Regions from separate parts of the Homo sapiens genome. Here all the other regions are linked to region 3. Evidence: promoter capture Hi-C in 16 types of primary human blood cells and fetal thymus (Javierre and others, 2016). All regions are on one chromosome and are shown on one strand. Each heading gives the region's core, a stretch centred on a gene start or on the middle of the fragment in contact. The rest is flanking DNA. Distances are from core to core; before and after follow the strand shown. Region 1 overlaps PICALM (phosphatidylinositol binding clathrin assembly protein). Region 2 overlaps PICALM (phosphatidylinositol binding clathrin assembly protein). Region 3 holds the start of CCDC89 (coiled-coil domain containing 89). Region 4 overlaps PICALM (phosphatidylinositol binding clathrin assembly protein). Region 5 has its middle 3.4 kb from the start of LINC02695. Region 6 has its middle 13 kb from the start of LINC02695.

Region 1 (2,700 bases), core at 153-2,652, 330 kb before region 3:
CTGGACTTGCAGTTCTGTTCTGTTGATCTGTATGTATATCTTCATGCCAGTACCACATTGTCTTGATTACTGTTGCTTTGCAGTGTGTTTTAAAATTAGAACGTGTGAGTCTTCCAATTCTATTCTTTTTTTTTTTTTTTTTTTCCCAAGATTGTTTTAGCTGTTCTGGGCCCCTTGCATTCCCATGTGAATTTCAGGATCAGCTTTTTGATTTCTGCAGAAAAGATAGCTGGGATTTTGTGGGGGATTGCATTGAATCTATAGATCAGTTTGGGGAGTATTACCTTCTTAATGATTAAATTTCTAGTCTATGAACAAGAGATGTGTTTCTGTTTATTTGGATCTTTTTTCATTTCTTTCAGTGCTGTTTTGTATTTAAGCTTTCTTTTAATCTTAAATGCAGAAGATGCATTTAATTTTTGCTGCACCCTAAATAACAATCATCTTAGTACATGATCCAGTCACATGAATGATATAGTCAGTGCTTCTATAAGTGATAACACCTGATATGCAGATTTTTTTCCTAGGATATAGGATGAGGCCTCAGGAGAAAGCCACTGAAGACATTCTTAGCAGCAGCGATGACCCTTGTAGCTATGAAGACCTGTCTTGAAGGGAATCTGGCATGTACAGAAATAGTCTGGTGAATGCCTTCCTGAGCCACTCTGCTGCTCAGTGATCCCAAAGGTCTAAGCAATTGATGTGTTCCTTTAGATTGTTCTATTGAAATTTTAAATTAATGGACTGAAGTGAAAAATTTAATTAAAATATAGAGGTAACCTCTTAGTTATGCAAGAAAATTTAAAGCTGAATTTAAATGTTCTATGCTGCCATTCCAAATCCATCAGGAGGTGATTATTTTGGAATATACCTAAAGTAAATTCTACAGATTTTGTTTCATATATTTAAGCACTTTGTAGAAGATTATGGTGGAGAACTTTTTTAGAAGTCTGATTTTTAACCTCTGTATCCTGTCCAATAATATTTCACTGTAAAGTGTCTTCAGTGAAGTTGATCTTCAGTGTATTTACAGATTTCAGAATAATAGATTTTTAAAATGGTAACTTTTGTTCTAATTTGAAGGGCCAGTCTTGAGAATAGTTGGTGAATTTTTTTATTTAATAGAGCAGTCTTTTTTAATTGGAGGAAAATAGCTCCTGATTAAGTACAATAAAATTAGTATTGACTTAGTTGAATCAAGGAGGAGCCATAATTGAGTGGGGACCAAGAAGAAGTGCAAAAGTGGCATTATACACACACATATACACGTCAGACTGTATAAATACAAAAGAAAAAAATCAAGAATATCAGGTATAAATTGAGGACATGACAGCAATTGAAATTATTATATCATGGCAAAAACCTCAGTAGGCTACACCTTTTGGAGAGGACTCTCATTGTAAGTAGTAAAGTTTGATTTATTAAGATTTTTTTTTATGTTTACAAAAGTAATAAAATTTAAGAAAAATACCATCCTAATTCATAGAAAATGTTAACATTTTAGTGTGTCTAACCTTTTCTGTGCGAGTAAATAGAAATATGTATATAAAGGCACATAGAAAATTACATAAAAATTGGATCAGATTCTTTGAAGGCTGCTTTTCTTCCCCTCCTGTGTATTTTGGACATTTTCAATGTCTGTACACATAGATCCATCTCATTTTTTTCTTTTTTTTTTTTAAGTCAGAGTCTGGCTCTATCACCCAGGCTGGGGTGCAGTGGCGTGCTCTTGGCTCACTGCAACCTCCACCTCCCGGGTTCAAGCGATTCTTCTGTCTCAGCCTCCCAAGTAGTTGGGACTACAGGTGCCCGCCACAATGCCCAGCTAATTTTTGTATTTTTAGTAGAGATGGGGTTTTGCCATGTTGGCCAGGCTGATCTTGAGCTCCTGACCTCAAGTGAGCTACCTGTCTCGGCCTCCCAAAGTGCTGAGATTACAGGCATGAGCCACCTCATCTGGCCTCAATCCATCTCATTCTTATGAATGGCTGTAGAATTATGTTGCAGGTGTACATCTGATTTATTCCCTTTTTTTAATCTTATAAAAGCAGTGGATTGACCATCCTTTTATGTATGGTTGCATTGAGTTTTTCTATAGAATAAATTATTAAAATTGATGAGTCATTGAGATATATATACATTTAACATTTTAATACAAAACACCAAATTATCCTTTATAAAAGTTATACTAAATTATTGGCTTAAATAGTTATTTGTATTCTTCCATCATCATGAAAAATGCGTTCATATGTGTTCATTTTATATTAGTTGATTGAATAAATGGTGATATTGAGCACACTCCCCCTTCCTTTTGAATGCCATACTTGTTTTATTAATTGTCTTTTGATGTCCATTGACAGCTTCTCTATTGGGTTTTTCACTCTTTTCCATTGTGTTTAATAGTGGTAAGAACTCACAAGCTTTTTTAGTCAGATGAATCTAGGTTTGAATTCTAGCTTCACACCAATTAGATGAGAGACTTCAGTGAGATACTTTAGCTGGTTTACTGACTTTTAAAAAATAATATTACTTTAAAATAATTTCACTTCCAGAAATGTAGCAAGAATATTAGAGAACTTCTGTATACTTTACTCAGAACCACCAGTTTTTAGCATTTTGCCACATCTGCATTTCTCTTTCTGTGTATATTCACACAGGCGCACACACACATTTTTTTCTGAACCATTTGAGAGTGGGTTA
Region 2 (2,700 bases), core at 180-2,679, 310 kb before region 3:
TTGAATCCTGGCTCTGTTAGTTCTTAACTTTTTTTGAGAAACCTTGTTTTCAGATGAGACTGTGGTTCTCAACTTTAACATCAGAAGCATTTGGAGAGTTTATTAAACTACAGATATCTGAGTCCCAATCCTAGAGTTTTGATTCAGTAGGTGGGGCCTGGGGCCCAAGAATTTTTGTTTTTAAGATGCTCCCAGGTGACTAGGTTTTAGCACAGTGCATTATTAGCACATGTTAAATGTTCCATAGAGAGTGGTGAGTTTTTTCCTTTCACTTTGTTGTTGCTGTTTATTAACTCACCCTTAAAAGCTCATCTGCCTGCCTACTGACTCCTAATAGCTGAGCCTAATAGCTCAGTGTAAGTTTTACTACGTGAACTGCTTGCTGTATGCATGCTCAGTTGCTACCTGCTCCCTGAAATCTTAGTAGGTGTTTGTTGAATTTAGTTCTTTTTTTTCTTTCAGCTTTATGATTTGTTTGCTCATGTATGCTACCTTCTTTAATCCCCAGTTAAGTAACATTGACCCCATTAAGGGGCAAGTTCTCAACATGGAGATCTTGAAAAGAAGTCTGTCCTAGGAGAAAGAAGTGAAAAGAATGTTCATTGTTCGAGGCTGAAACAAATTATTGGATAAAGAACTAATTTCACTATGTTTTATGTCACATACTAAAAATTTTCACCTTTTTAATAGTAATTAAGGGCAAATCTTACAGCCCATTTACAGAATTATTATTGTATATTCTATATGTTCCCCAAAGCACTAAATGCGTTTATATCTACTATCTACACAACTATTGTACATCTAAAAGACATGTCTTCAAAACTTTTTTATAAAAATACAGTTAGAAGGAATAAGTTCTAGTGTTTGATAGCACAGTAGAATTACTAATTAAAAACAATTGTATTACCTATATCAAAGTAGCTAGAAGATTTAGAATGTTCTCAACACAGAGAAATGATGAATGTTTGAGGTGTGATAGATGTCCTGATAATTACATGGTATGCATGTATCACAATATCATATGTATCCCATAAATATGTACAATTATTGTATATCCATTTAAAAAGAAAAACATTCTATTTTGGAGAATATATAAGTTAAAAATTAGGAGCTGGGTGTGGTGGCGTGTGCCTGTTGTCCCAGCTACTCAGGAGGTTGAGGCAGGAGGAAGGCCTGAGCCCAGCCGTACAAGCTAGCCTGGGCAACATCTCTTGGTCTGTTTGTCTGTTTCTCTCTCAATCTCTCTCTCTCTTTTGAGACAGTGACTTACTCTGTCACCCAGGCTGGAGTGCAGTGGCACAGCCATGGCTCACTGCAGCCTCAACCTCCTGGGCTCAAGCATTCCCTCTGCCTTAGCTTCCCGAGTAGCTGGGACTACAGGCGCACTCCGCAATGCCCAACTATTTTTCGTATTTTTTCGCCATTTTGCCCAAGCTGATCTTGAACTTTTGAACTCAAGCAGTCCGCACGCCTCAGCCTCCCAAAGTGCTGGGATTACAGGCATGAGCCACTACACCCAGCCTCCAGACCCCTTCTCTTAAAAAAATTATCTGTACTGTGTTTGAATTCTTAGACACTCTGGGGTCATGTTTTGAGTTGTTCATTAAAATCACATAGAAGTCGGCCGGGCATGGTGGCTCATGCCTGTAATCCCAGCATTTTGGGAGGCTGAGGTGGGCGCATCATGAGGTCAGGAGATCGAGACCATCCTGGCTAACACGGTGAAAGCCCATCTCTACTAAAAATATAAAAAATTAGCCGGGCGTGGTGGCAGGCGCCTGTAGTCCCAGCTACTTGGCAGGCTGAGGTAGAAGAATGGCATGAACCCGGGAGGCGGAGCTTGCAGTGAGCCAGGATCGCTCCACTGCACTCCAGCCTGGGCGACGGAGCGAGACTCTGTCTCAAATAAAAAAAATTACATAGAAGTCTTGAGGTAGAAATATATCATGTAAGCCAGGCATGGTGCCTCCCGCCTGTAATCCCAGCACTTTGGGAGGCTCAGGTGGGTGGATCATCTGAGGTCAGGAGTTCGAGGCCAGCCTGGGCAGTGTGGTGAAACCCTGTCTCTACTAAAGGACAAAAATTAGCCAAGCATGGTGGCATGCACCTTTAATCCCAGCTTCTTGGGAGGCTAAGGCATGCCAGTCACTGGAACCCAGGAGGTGGAGGTTGCATTGAGCCAAGATCACATCACTGCACTCCAGCCTGGACAACAGAGTGAGACTCTTGTCTCAAAAAAAGCAAAACAACAACAAAAAAAGAGGCTGAGCACAGTGGCTCACGCCTGTAATCCCAGCACTCTGGGAGGCCGAGGCAGGCGTATCACCTGAGGTCAAGAGTTTGAGACCAGGCTGGCCAACATGGTGAAACCCTGTCTCTATTAAAAATACAAAAATTAGCCGGATGCGGTGCTGCGCACCTGTAGTCCCAGCTGCTTGGGAGGCTAAGGCAGGAGAATCATTTGAACCTGGGAGGCAGAGGTTACAGTGAGCCAAGATCACGCCGCTGCACTCCATCCTGGGCGACAGAGCGAGACTCTGTCTCAAAAAAAAGAAGAAAGAAATATATCATGTAAATAGTGTGTTGTGTGATGGGGTGGCTCTATTCATAAATGCATGTAAAATTTTTTCCCTGTATCATTGATACATAGTTTGGACACTGAGGCACTAGAAGTGAGGTTAATGAGTATTTTACTGTGTA
Region 3 (2,700 bases), core at 173-2,672:
CTGCACTCCAGCCTGGGCGATGGAGGGAGACTCTGTCTCAAAAAAAAAAAAAAAAAAAAAAAAAAAGTAGTGTCTGTCATATTAGGGATATTTTTCTCAATTTGATTTTTACCTTCAACATCCACTTAATACACATTTATCTGAATCTCCCCCATGTGCCAGGCACTAGTCTAATCATCAAGGATGAAATAGACACAGTCCCTGCCCTTAAGGATCTTACAGTCTAACAGAGGGAAGCTGGCAGATAAACAGTGACTGCAATAAAATTTTCACATCCTCCACCAGAAGTACAAATAGCTATAGCGGATGCACTAAAAGATGTGAGTGACCAATTGGACATGTAGGGGCCAGGAATAGGCTTCAGAGACGATTCTTAACTAAGAATAAAAAGCTTTACTAGAGTGACAAGGGACAAAGTAGGAAAGGCATTCCAAGTAGAGGAACACCTAAAGATAGGGCGAGAGAGCTGGTTAGTGGATTTGGGTTTGGCTTCAATATTTGGGTTTGAGGAGTAAAATGTCAAGAAAATCCAGTGGAAGAAGGGGCTGGAGAGACCTCAGAAGTCACATAATTTAAAAAATTATACATAACTTTTTGAGTAAGCTTTCCCTTTCTGATCTTACATAATGTTTAAGATAAAAAAAAAATCCTTCCTAGCCCCAGAGATTTGATGTTTACCTTCATTTTCTTCTAGTTTCTGTTTACATTTAACTAATCTATCAGGAGTTGACTTTGGCATATAATGGCAAGCTTCATTTGAATCTTATTTTTTCTGTTTTAATGTTTATCTGTGTGGTTCACTAAGCTTCTTTCTGTAACCTTATTTTGCTAATGGGTAAAAACAGGGGGTGTTAAATATCTAATAAAGAGTATTTATGCCCAGGTGGGGACAATGCTAAGAACAACAAAAGAAATTTCACTGGTGTTTTCTATTTTAATACTTAAATACCAAAAGGGAGCTGTGCCAAACATCACGGGTGCAGATATGCAGGCTTTTAGGGTCCTGGCTCTCAGAATACCACTACTACTTTGTATTCATAGACTGAAATTTTTTGAGGAGCCAACCATGTTTCCACAAACAGTAATTTATTCAAACGATAACTGAAGAGGGGAGAGGGAGGATAAATATATCATTGCCTGCTTCATTTGTTTACTACTACCAGAAATTAGGTGGAGTCAGGCTTCCTCCCCTGATGCTGGCTGGAGATTGAGTGGGGTTGGCATCTCTGTGCTGTACAGGCCAGACACTGAGACAGTTGACAACTGAGAGCTGTGATTGGTTAGAAAGGCAAAAGTAACCCGACCAGATTGGCTCTGGACTCCCCCAGATTCCCCTGTTGTTACTTCATAGCATTCTGAAGACCTGTCCACCAATTACAGGGCTCCTTACTGGAAAAACCAACTGCTGGGGAGTGCCAAGAGTCCCTAGCAACACCCTGCAGCGTTTGAAATCTGAGGGGAAAAGACTGTAGTCAGCCCTTAGTGGATGAGAGCGCCTATGCTCCAGAAACAGCAGGCTCCCAGGATGGACACCCCGCCCCCTGAAGAACGCTTAGAGAAGCAAAATGAAAAACTGAACAACCAGGAAGAGGAGACGGAGTTTAAGGAACTGGACGGTCTGAGGGAAGCCTTGGCAAACCTCCGGGGACTGTCAGAGGAGGAGAGGAGCGAGAAGGCTATGCTTCGCTCCCGCATTGAAGAGCAGTCCCAGCTCATCTGCATCCTGAAGCGGAGGTCAGATGAGGCCCTGGAGCGCTGCCAGATCCTAGAGCTGCTCAATGCAGAGCTGGAGGAGAAGATGATGCAGGAGGCTGAGAAGCTCAAGGCCCAGGGTGAGTACAGTCGGAAACTAGAGGAACGCTTTATGACCCTAGCAGCCAACCACGAGTTGATGCTCCGCTTCAAGGATGAATACAAGAGTGAGAACATCAAGCTGAGGGAGGAGAATGAGAAGCTGAGGCTGGAGAATAGCAGCCTCTTCAGCCAGGCTCTGAAGGATGAGGAGGCGAAAGTATTACAGCTCACAGTCCGGTGTGAGGCCCTCACTGGGGAGCTAGAAACGCTGAAGGAGAGGTGTGCTCAGGATGCCTGCCAGGCACAGGCGCGCGAGAAGGAGCTGCTGGAGCTACAGAGCCAGCAGGCCTGCACCCACACCAAGGAGACAGAACAGCTGCGCAGCCAGCTGCAGACCCTCAAGCAGCAGCACCAGCAGGCTGTGGAGCAGATAGCTAAGGCAGAGGAGACACACAGCAGCCTGAGCCAGGAGCTGCAGGCCAGGCTGCAGACCGTCACTAGAGAGAAAGAGGAGTTGCTGCAGCTGTCCATTGAAAGGGGCAAAGTGCTTCAGAACAAACAGGCAGAGATCTGCCAGCTTGAGGAAAAGTTGGAGATAGCAAATGAAGACAGGAAGCATGCGCTGGAGCGGTTTGAGCAAGAGGCAGTGGCTGTGGACAGCAACTTGAGAGTCAGGGAGCTTCAGCGCAAAGTAGATGGGATCCAGAAGGCCTACGATGAACTCAGGCTGCAGTCTGAAGCCTTCAAAAAGCACAGCTTGGATCTTTTAAGCAAGGAGAGAGAACTCAATGGCAAACTCCGCCATCTCTCTCCATAGGGAAGTTTCTGCTTCCTCTGGCCTGCAATTCAGAATTCAAATATTTGCGTCTTAGCATTATGGCAAGAGTAAAGATGATATCCCATTTA
Region 4 (2,700 bases), core at 182-2,681, 350 kb before region 3:
GCTGGTCTTGAACTCCTGACCTCATGATCCACCCGCCTCGGTCTCCCAAAGTGCTGGGATTCCAGGCGTGAGCCACCGTGCCCGGCCAGGACTTTGACTTACTTTGGGTGTGGGGTCTGGAGATTCCTTAAGGCTCATTTACCATTGTAAGAGATTGAACTTGTGTTCAAAATACTGACCTACTTCTGGCATAGTGGCTGCCAAATTCTCAGGTACTTTACCATGCAACTCTTATTCTTTTTTTGTTTTGTTTTGTTTAATTTTTTTCGGATGGAGTCTCGCTCTGTTGCCCAGGTTGGAGTGCTATGGCTGTGATCTCAGCTTCCTTTTACCTCCGCCTCCTGGGTTCAAGCGATTCTCCTGTGTCAGCCTCCCAAGTAGCTGGGATTACAAGCATGTGCCACCATGCCTGGCTAATTTTTGTGTTTTTAGTAGAGACAGGGTTTCACCATATTGGCCAGGCTGGTCTCGAACTCCTGACCTCAAGTGATCTACCTGCCTCAACTTTCCATAGTGTTGGGATTATAGGCGTAAGCCTCCATGCCTGGCCCAGCCACTCTTATTCTTGTACCACCTCTTCCTCACATCCTTGAGGAGATAAAGAATGTGTCATGGCTCTCCTTTCTGCTCTTGATCATGATAACGTTCTAAAGGGTGTGGAATAAATTACAGTACAGAACTGGTGTGTGCTATGTGACATGAGAGGTACTGAGATTAGTTTATGGAAGTAACAGTGTTATAGTTCCTTTATAAATTATTTTTCTCTAACTTCATATATGACATAGTTGCTAAGTCATTTTGGAAGTGTTCGATTGTGTATGCATCACCTTGTATTTGGGCAAATACAATATATACAAAAAAATATTACACATACATAACTTTTTTTTTTTAGACAGTGTCTTGCTGTGTTATCCAAGTTGGAGTGCAATGTCGTGATCACAGTTCACTGTAACCTTAAACTCTTGGGCTTAAACTATCTTCCCGCCTCAACCTCCACTACAAGCAGTAATTAAAAAAAAAAAAACTAGGGAGCTGGGTGCGGTGGCTCACGCCTGTAATCCCAGCACTTTGGGAGGCCGAGGCAGGTGGATCACAAGGTCAGGAGTTCAAGACCAGCCTGGCCAAGATGGTGAAACCCCATCTCTACTAAAAATACAAAAATTAGCCGGGCGTGGTAGCAGGTGCCTGTAATCCCAGCTACTTGGGAGGCTGAGGCAGGAGAATTGCATGAACCTGGGTGGCAAAGGTGGCAGTGAGCCGAGATCACACCACTGCACTCCAGCCTGGGCGATAGAGTGAGACTCCGTCTCAAAAAAAAAAAAAAAAAATTTTCTTTTTTTTTTGGCTGGGTGTGGTGGCTCATGCCTGTAATCCCCAGCCCTTTGGGAGGCCGAAGCGGGTAGATCACGAGATCAAGAGATTGAGACCATCCTGGCCAACATGGTGAAACCCTGTCTCTACTAAAAATACAAAAATTAGCTGGGCGTGGTGGCGGGCCCCTGTAGTCCCAGCTGCTTGGCAGGCTGAGGCAGGAGAATCGCTTGAACCTGGGAGGCGGAGGTTGCAGTGAGCCGAGATCACGCCATGCACTCCAGCCTGGCTACAGAGCAAGACTCCATCTCAAAAAAAATTTTTTTTTTTTGGTTGTTGTTGAGACAGGATCTCCCTGTGTTGCTTAGGCTGGTCTCAAACTCGTGACCTCAAGCAGTCATCCTACCTCGGCCTTCCAAAGCACTGGGATTACAGGCATGAACCACAATGCCTAGCCTCACACATACAGTTTTAAAAAATGGAATTGTACTGTGTATTTTTCTTTACTATAACTTTTGACTTAATATGTGGTGAACATTTTCTCCTGACAGCTTTTATTTTTTGTGCCATGCATTCGTTGGCCTCATAGTATTTCATAGTCAGACTGTAGTGTCATTTGATTAACTCTTCACTCTTGGATATGTCCACTTAAATTATGAATTAGGTCCCTTAGCTTCATTAGTATTGTTCTAAAAGCCATCTGATTATTTTTGTCAATCTTTGTCATTGTACTCAGCGTTCCATATTCTGTCTTTAAGAGTATTTCCCCAGTTATTAAAGTCCAATTATGTTGGTTAGATTTCTTAAGGTGTAAGTCAGCCTGTGAAGAGCATAGTTTTGAGTTAATTCTACTGGAAGTTATATAAAAATAAAACATTGTGTTTCTCACAGAAGACCCCATGAACTTTACAGATAAAATTTTAACAGTTACATCTTAATTTGGACCATATTTTATGATCCCTTTCACAAATCATTGGAGTAAGAAATAAGACTGTTCATTTCATTTCCTGGACATTGACACTTACGACTAGGCAAATTTGCCTGTGTTTAACTTTGATTAGCCTATGTCTAATTTCAACTTGCATAGTTTTGAAATACTTAAAACAATTTTGCTATATGAAAAAAATTTTGCTGATACTTCATATAAAAGTTCCTTATCCTCTGTTTACTATTTTTTGATGAATATGCTTTTTGTTTCTACTCCCACCAAGGAAAAATTACAAAGATTTGATAAGTGAAGCAAAATTTGATTAACCAGTTAATTTGCCTTGCCTTCCATATTAATTTTATCTCCAATTTTCTTTTTTTTTCTTTTTTTTTTTTTTTTTTGAGGCAGAGTCTCGCTCTGTAGGCCAGGCTGGAGTGCAGTGGCATGATCTCGGCTCACTG
Region 5 (2,700 bases), core at 58-2,557, 510 kb before region 3:
ATCTTCTTTGGCAAGGTACTATTCTCTATTTTTTACCTAAGAAAAATAAATACATGCCAATTTTTGAAACAATATACTGGTTTACAAAGTAAAAAGTTGAAGTTCTCTCTCTCTCTCTCAATCCCACTACCCAAAAGTAATCACTGTTAACATTGTCTTCATTCAAGACATGTTTCTATGCATTAACATACCTACATATGTATATTTTTATGTACTCATTTGATTTTTCTTTTAATAGTATTTTATGAGTTACTTTTTAAATATATGTTAAAGGTATATTACTTTACTATATCCTGGAGACCTTTCAATGTCAGTAATGGGTGCAGAATATGCCAGAGGATGAATGTGCTATAAAGTAACTAATGAGTTCCTTATTGGACATCTATGTTGTTTTTTAAAATTTTTCTTTCTTTTTTTAACCTTTAGGCAATTCTGTAATGAACCACCTTCTGTATATATATACATATCTCTGTACAACAATGCCAGTATATCTGTGGCTGGATTCTTAGAAATGGAATTGCTGAGTCAAAGATTACATAATTTAACAACATGATAGGAATTGTCCTCAAACTGCCAAACTGTGCACAAAAAAGGCTGTTCAAGTTTACACTCCCATCAAGTGTTAGAGAGTAGTTCAGTATTCAGAGAAGCCATAGAAGTTTTAAATATGTGCTTCAGGAGCTACTGGGGAAAACAAGGGAGTAAGAAAAAGGCTGGTAGTCCACACAGCAATCTCCTTTCCTCTTCAGTGAGAACACCTCTCCTTTGATCAACATTATTTATTCGGCTTAGTTTAAAATTCCTCTTGAGGAGAAGTTTCTGGGACTAAACATTTGAAAATATTTGAAATAAAAAAATTACCTGTTTTTAAGTGACAAAAATTATTAATTTATAAGTTACTTAGGAATGTTCTCAGGTGCAAGTAACAGATGACACAAACACAGCAGATTGAATCGGCGATGGTACAATTTTCTCATGTAACATAAATGCAGCAGCTGCATTTGTTGGGTGGCTCAGTGGCCTTTTGGGCTTTTCCTTCATGGTTGCAAGATGGCACTACTCCAACTCAAGCATCATGTTTGTATTCAAGACAGAAGGAAAGGGAGACGGTTTGTATCAGTCACTCTGACCCTTTTATCAGAATTGCATAAGTGCTCTTAGAAGCAGTCTGCTTCTCCCTAAGATCTTTGCTCAGATGTTATTGGGCAGAGCTTTTTTGTGTGTGTAGTGTCTAATGGTTGCAAGGGAGGTTGGGAAAAATGATTCTTTTTTTTCTGGCTTTTATAGTGGAAGCAGGCAAAAGATTAGTTGGGTGTAGTTGTTGGGTTAGCCGGTCATCATGCTCTGCCCCTAAGTGCTCAGAATACTGAAGACTAAAGATGCAATGACAAACAAGATAGTCCTTATTGTTTTTGTTTGTTTGTTTGTTTTTTGTTTTTAGATACAGCTATAATTTTATTACAAAACTGTTCTTTTGGCATTAGTTAGTTACAGTGATAGCAAGATAATGTGAGTGTGCAGACTGGCTCTGATGGAACCACTGTATTCCCTGCTTACTGAACCAAACTTCAGCTACCTCATATCCATTACATACAAGTGACCTGCAGTTATTACTGCTACAAATCTTGACGCGTGTACCGCTGAGGGAGGAGCTGATGCTAAGGGATTTGATTACATGTTGATAAGACTACAAAAGTTCGTTTATGGGACTTTTTCTTCCTCTTCCCATGCAATGACTTTGCTTTAGAACAATCACATGGCTTAGAGCTAGTCTGAGTAGCAGCAGCACCCAAGGAGCGTCAGTTCTTGTTAAAAAGCAATACCTGTGTGATGCATTTTTACGCCACAGGCAAAGGGAAGGATCACCCTCATTTTAAACTCCTGCAGAGTCCCTTAATAAAATATCAAAGCATTCCATCAAGTTCTTCTGGGTGGTGTTATTGCTGTACATTTGTTGGTGAGTCATTTTCTGTGCTGTGTTTGCTTTGAAAGGATCTTCCAATTTATCTCCAATATTCCTTTCTTATCATGTCCTTTTCTTTAGCTAGGATTTCACATAACCCTAATGCATTATTAAGAATGTCTTCCTTATTGACACACTGGTTTTCTAGCATGTCTTCATAGATACCCACAAGAAAGGCAATTAGGTAGGGGGAACTATGACTTGGTTGTAAATCAAGTAATTGATTTAACAGATTAGGATATTTGGAAAGACCACGATCCTGCAAAATTCCTTTCAAATAGTTCCATGAACTATTATGTGGTACTAGTTGAATCATTTCCAGAGTGTATTGGACTTCTCTCTCCAATACAGCACAATCATTGTAGCCAGTGGTGTTGGAAATAACAAAATATCTTCGGTTCCAGACAGAGTTATTTCTCACATCCTCTTTGAGAAGTTGGTCCACATACTGCAGCTCATTATCCCAAAGTTTAAATTCCTGAATAACCCATTGTCGATGCTGCCAGGCATGATAATTCTTTGCATCCTGATTAAGAATATTATCAATAAATTCAGGCTCCTGAGATGGATCTCTTAGCCATTCCACTATTACTCGCCTATTGTGACAAACTAGATAGTTTTTGGGCTGCCCCTCAATTATTTCAGTGATGTAGTTCATTTCCTCATGTAGATCCTTCTGAAGTGACTTTAAGAGAACTCTCCGGAAATGTCACACTGTATAATTGGCTGCATTTAAC
Region 6 (2,700 bases), core at 73-2,572, 490 kb before region 3:
AGAGAACTCTTGCCTGCCTCTTCTGAGATTCTGGCCATGGCTGTCAACTCTCGGCATTCCTTGGCTTGCAGTTGCATCCCTTAAATCTCTCTTTTGTCATCACACAGCATATTCCCTGTGTCTCTCTGTCTCTGTGTCCTCTCATAAAAACACCATTCATATTGGATTAGGTCCCACCCTAATGACCACATCTTCACTTGATCTGCAAAGACCCTGTCTTCAAATAAGGTCACATTTCACAGGTACCAGGGCTTAGGACTTCAACATATGTTTTGGCGACGGGAAATAATTCAACCCACAACAATGGCCTTTACAGTTATTTCTCTGCTTAGAATGCTTTTTCTTCAGTTGTCTACACTGTTCACCTTCTCTTGTGCTTCCGGTCTTTACTCAAATGTTACTTACTTGGCAAGGCCTTCCTTAGCCACCTTATCTGAAATCACAACATCTGTTCCCCAGCATTTGCTAGTCCCCTTCCCTGCTTTATTTTTCTCTTTACCACTTGTAATTAGCATATTATATGTTGTATTTCACGTATTCATATTGTCTCTTGTCTGTCTCCCCTGGTAGCATGAAAACTCCAGGAAAGCAGGGATTTTTGTGACTTTTGTTCATGGTTATGTTGCCAGCATGTACAATCAAGCCTGGCACAAAGGATACTTGTTGAACGTATAAAAGAATCTCCATGTCCAAAGCCCGATATTTAGAGCTCTAAGACTTTTGCAGCTTCACCAAGAGTCAGACCTTCTCCTATAGCCACAAGCTTTAACTTCCTAACAGGAAGCCAGATGTCGTAGTTCCCCACACTGAGGACTTAGAAAGAAAAACTTATCTCAGCCCCAAAGGTCTGGTTGTTGGAACTCCAGTCCACCAAGTATATTTGAAGGAAAAACAAGGCAGTGTCTCCCCTATCTGGTCTTTTGCTTAATTTATGAAACAAAACAGAAGGGCCTGGTGCGGTGGCTCACGCCTGTAATCCCAACATTTTGAGAGGTCGAGGCAGGCGGATCACCTGAGGCCAGGAGTTTGAGACCAGCCTGCCCAACGTGGTGAAACCCCGTCTCTACTAAAAATACAAAAATTAGCCAGGCGTGGTGTTGGGTCTGTAATCCCAGCTACCCGGGAGGCTGAGGCATGAGAATCCTTTGAACCCAGGAGGCGGAGGTTGCAGTGAGCTGAGATCATGCCACTGCACTCCAGCCTGGGCGACGGAGCGAGACTCTGTCTCAAAAAAAACAAACAAACAAACAAACAAACAAAAACAGAAGGAAAGGGATTAGGGCTAGGGAATCTCTGTTTGCCAAAATAGTCTTTCCCAGTCATAACCTTTCTGTCTACCTGATGAGTTTTCCGTCTTTGCCAGGCTTCCTTCTCTCTCCTCTGATGTAGATCTATGGTTTTGCGAGGTCCAGTATTATGAAGACCTTTATGTGCAGCGGCTCCTCTAGCAACTGGCACTCATCCAGCTACATCAGAGTTCTAACGGGACTCTTGGGTTGTAAAACTTTCAGCTTGTGGTCTTGTGATGTTTATTTTGTGTCAACCTGGCTGAGCTGCAATGCCCGGATATTGGTCAAACATTATTCTGGATGTTTCTGTGAAAGTGTTTTAGATGAAATTAACATTTAATTTATTGGACTTTGAGGAAACCAGATTGCCCTTCATAATGTGGGTGTGCCTTATCCAATCAGTTGAAGGCCTAACTGGAACAAAAGACTCACCTCCTCTGAGCAAGAGGAAATTCTTTCAGCAGGCGGCCTTCAGCCTTGAACTGCAACATTAATTCTTTCTGGGTTCTGCAGACTGCTCGCCTGCCTTGCAGATTTTGGACTTGCCATCTGCTATGGTTTGGATATGGTTGGTTGTCTCCACCAAAGCTTATGCTGAATTTGATCCTCAGTGTGCTGGTGTTGGGAGGTGGGGACTAGTGGAAGGTATTTGGATTATGGGGACAGCGCTCATGAATGGCTTTGTGATGTTCTCAAGTTAGTCCGTTCTCGCTGTCAGGCAACTGAACTGGTTCTCATAGCAATGATTAGTTCCTGTGAAAGTGGGTTGCTATAATGCCAGGACGCTCCCCTGGCTTCCCCTGTTTGCATGTGTCTGCTTCCGGCTTGACCTTCTCCAACATGTTGTGATGCTGCATGAAAGCTCTCGCCAGAAGCCAAGGCCATGCCTTTGAATTTCTTATCCTGCAGAAGTGTGAGCCAAATAAACCTCTTTTCTTTACAGATTACCCAGTTTCAGATTTTCTTTTTTTTCTTTTTTTTTTTAAGTACAGAATACACGCTGGATCAAATATTCTTTTGAAGCAACAGAAAACAGACTAAGACATCATCCTCTATAATTGCATGAGTCAATTCTTTAACATCTCTTTAGTGCTCTTTTTACACACACACATACATGAATCCTGTTGGTTCCATTTTTCTGGAGAACCCTGACTAATACAAATTTTATCAGCATTTTTCACAGAAATATTTATTTTAAACAACAGTGGAACAGAATTTCATGATGTTTTCTGACCAAGGTTGATATAATCTGCTTCCACTGAAAAAGCAAAACCCAGGCAGCATGTTTCCCCTGGTTCTGGGGCTCCAGTCATAAAACTGAGAGCTTTTTAGAGAGTGGGGTTTACAAAGGATACAGAGGATAGAGTTCCAGAGGATGAAGAAACTCTTGTTTATTACTTACAGACCATGC

What was found. Contacts are between HindIII fragments. The CHiCAGO score rates a contact against its expected background, and 5 or more counts as called.
Region 1: a contact is called between a fragment that was not itself captured here and the fragment with the promoter of CCDC89 in region 3, in 6 of 17 cell types (naive CD4 T cells, total CD8 T cells, total CD4 T cells and 3 more). The highest score is 10.4, in naive CD4 T cells.
Region 2: a fragment that was not itself captured here is called in contact with the fragment with the promoter of CCDC89 in region 3 in 6 of 17 cell types (naive CD8 T cells, naive CD4 T cells, total CD4 T cells and 3 more); the score reaches 9.8 in naive CD8 T cells.
Region 4: a contact is called between a fragment that was not itself captured here and the fragment with the promoter of CCDC89 in region 3, in 2 of 17 cell types (naive CD4 T cells and total CD4 T cells). The highest score is 7.0, in naive CD4 T cells.
Region 5: a fragment that was not itself captured here is called in contact with the fragment with the promoter of CCDC89 in region 3 in 6 of 17 cell types (naive CD4 T cells, total CD4 T cells, total CD8 T cells and 3 more); the score reaches 12.5 in naive CD4 T cells.
Region 6: a fragment that was not itself captured here is called in contact with the fragment with the promoter of CCDC89 in region 3 in 1 of 17 cell types (non-activated CD4 T cells); the score reaches 5.7 in non-activated CD4 T cells.

Annotation. Positions count from the first base shown.
Region 1 is chr11:86,017,869-86,020,568 of GRCh38, reverse strand. All of the region lies in intron 4 of PICALM (phosphatidylinositol binding clathrin assembly protein), which reads left to right. Among named protein-coding and RNA genes, the nearest start is that of PICALM, 50 kb to the left of the region's middle. The HindIII fragment of the contact is 2,040 bases long and covers 383-2,422 here.
Region 2 is chr11:85,997,333-86,000,032 of GRCh38, reverse strand. The region is part of intron 11 of PICALM (phosphatidylinositol binding clathrin assembly protein); the gene reads left to right. Among named protein-coding and RNA genes, the nearest start is that of PICALM, 70 kb to the left of the region's middle. The HindIII fragment of the contact is 4,873 bases long and covers 1-2,700 here.
Region 3 is chr11:85,684,917-85,687,616 of GRCh38, reverse strand. CCDC89 (coiled-coil domain containing 89) reads left to right here and starts at 1,422. Exons shown (of 1, transcript NM_152723.3): 1 at 1,422-2,700. The coding sequence starts at 1,487. The coding sequence ends at 2,611. RefSeq lists enhancers at 1,626-2,125, 2,126-2,627. The HindIII fragment of the contact is 2,434 bases long and covers 808-2,700 here.
Region 4 is chr11:86,035,888-86,038,587 of GRCh38, reverse strand. All of the region lies in intron 1 of PICALM (phosphatidylinositol binding clathrin assembly protein), which reads left to right. Among named protein-coding and RNA genes, the nearest start is that of PICALM, 32 kb to the left of the region's middle. The HindIII fragment of the contact is 8,252 bases long and covers 1-2,700 here.
Region 5 is chr11:86,195,506-86,198,205 of GRCh38, reverse strand. It overlaps the pseudogene FNTAP1. Among named protein-coding and RNA genes, the nearest start is that of LINC02695, 3.4 kb to the right of the region's middle. The HindIII fragment of the contact is 9,506 bases long and covers 1-2,700 here.
Region 6 is chr11:86,178,726-86,181,425 of GRCh38, reverse strand. No RefSeq gene overlaps it. Among named protein-coding and RNA genes, the nearest start is that of LINC02695, 13 kb to the left of the region's middle. The HindIII fragment of the contact is 1,114 bases long and covers 766-1,879 here.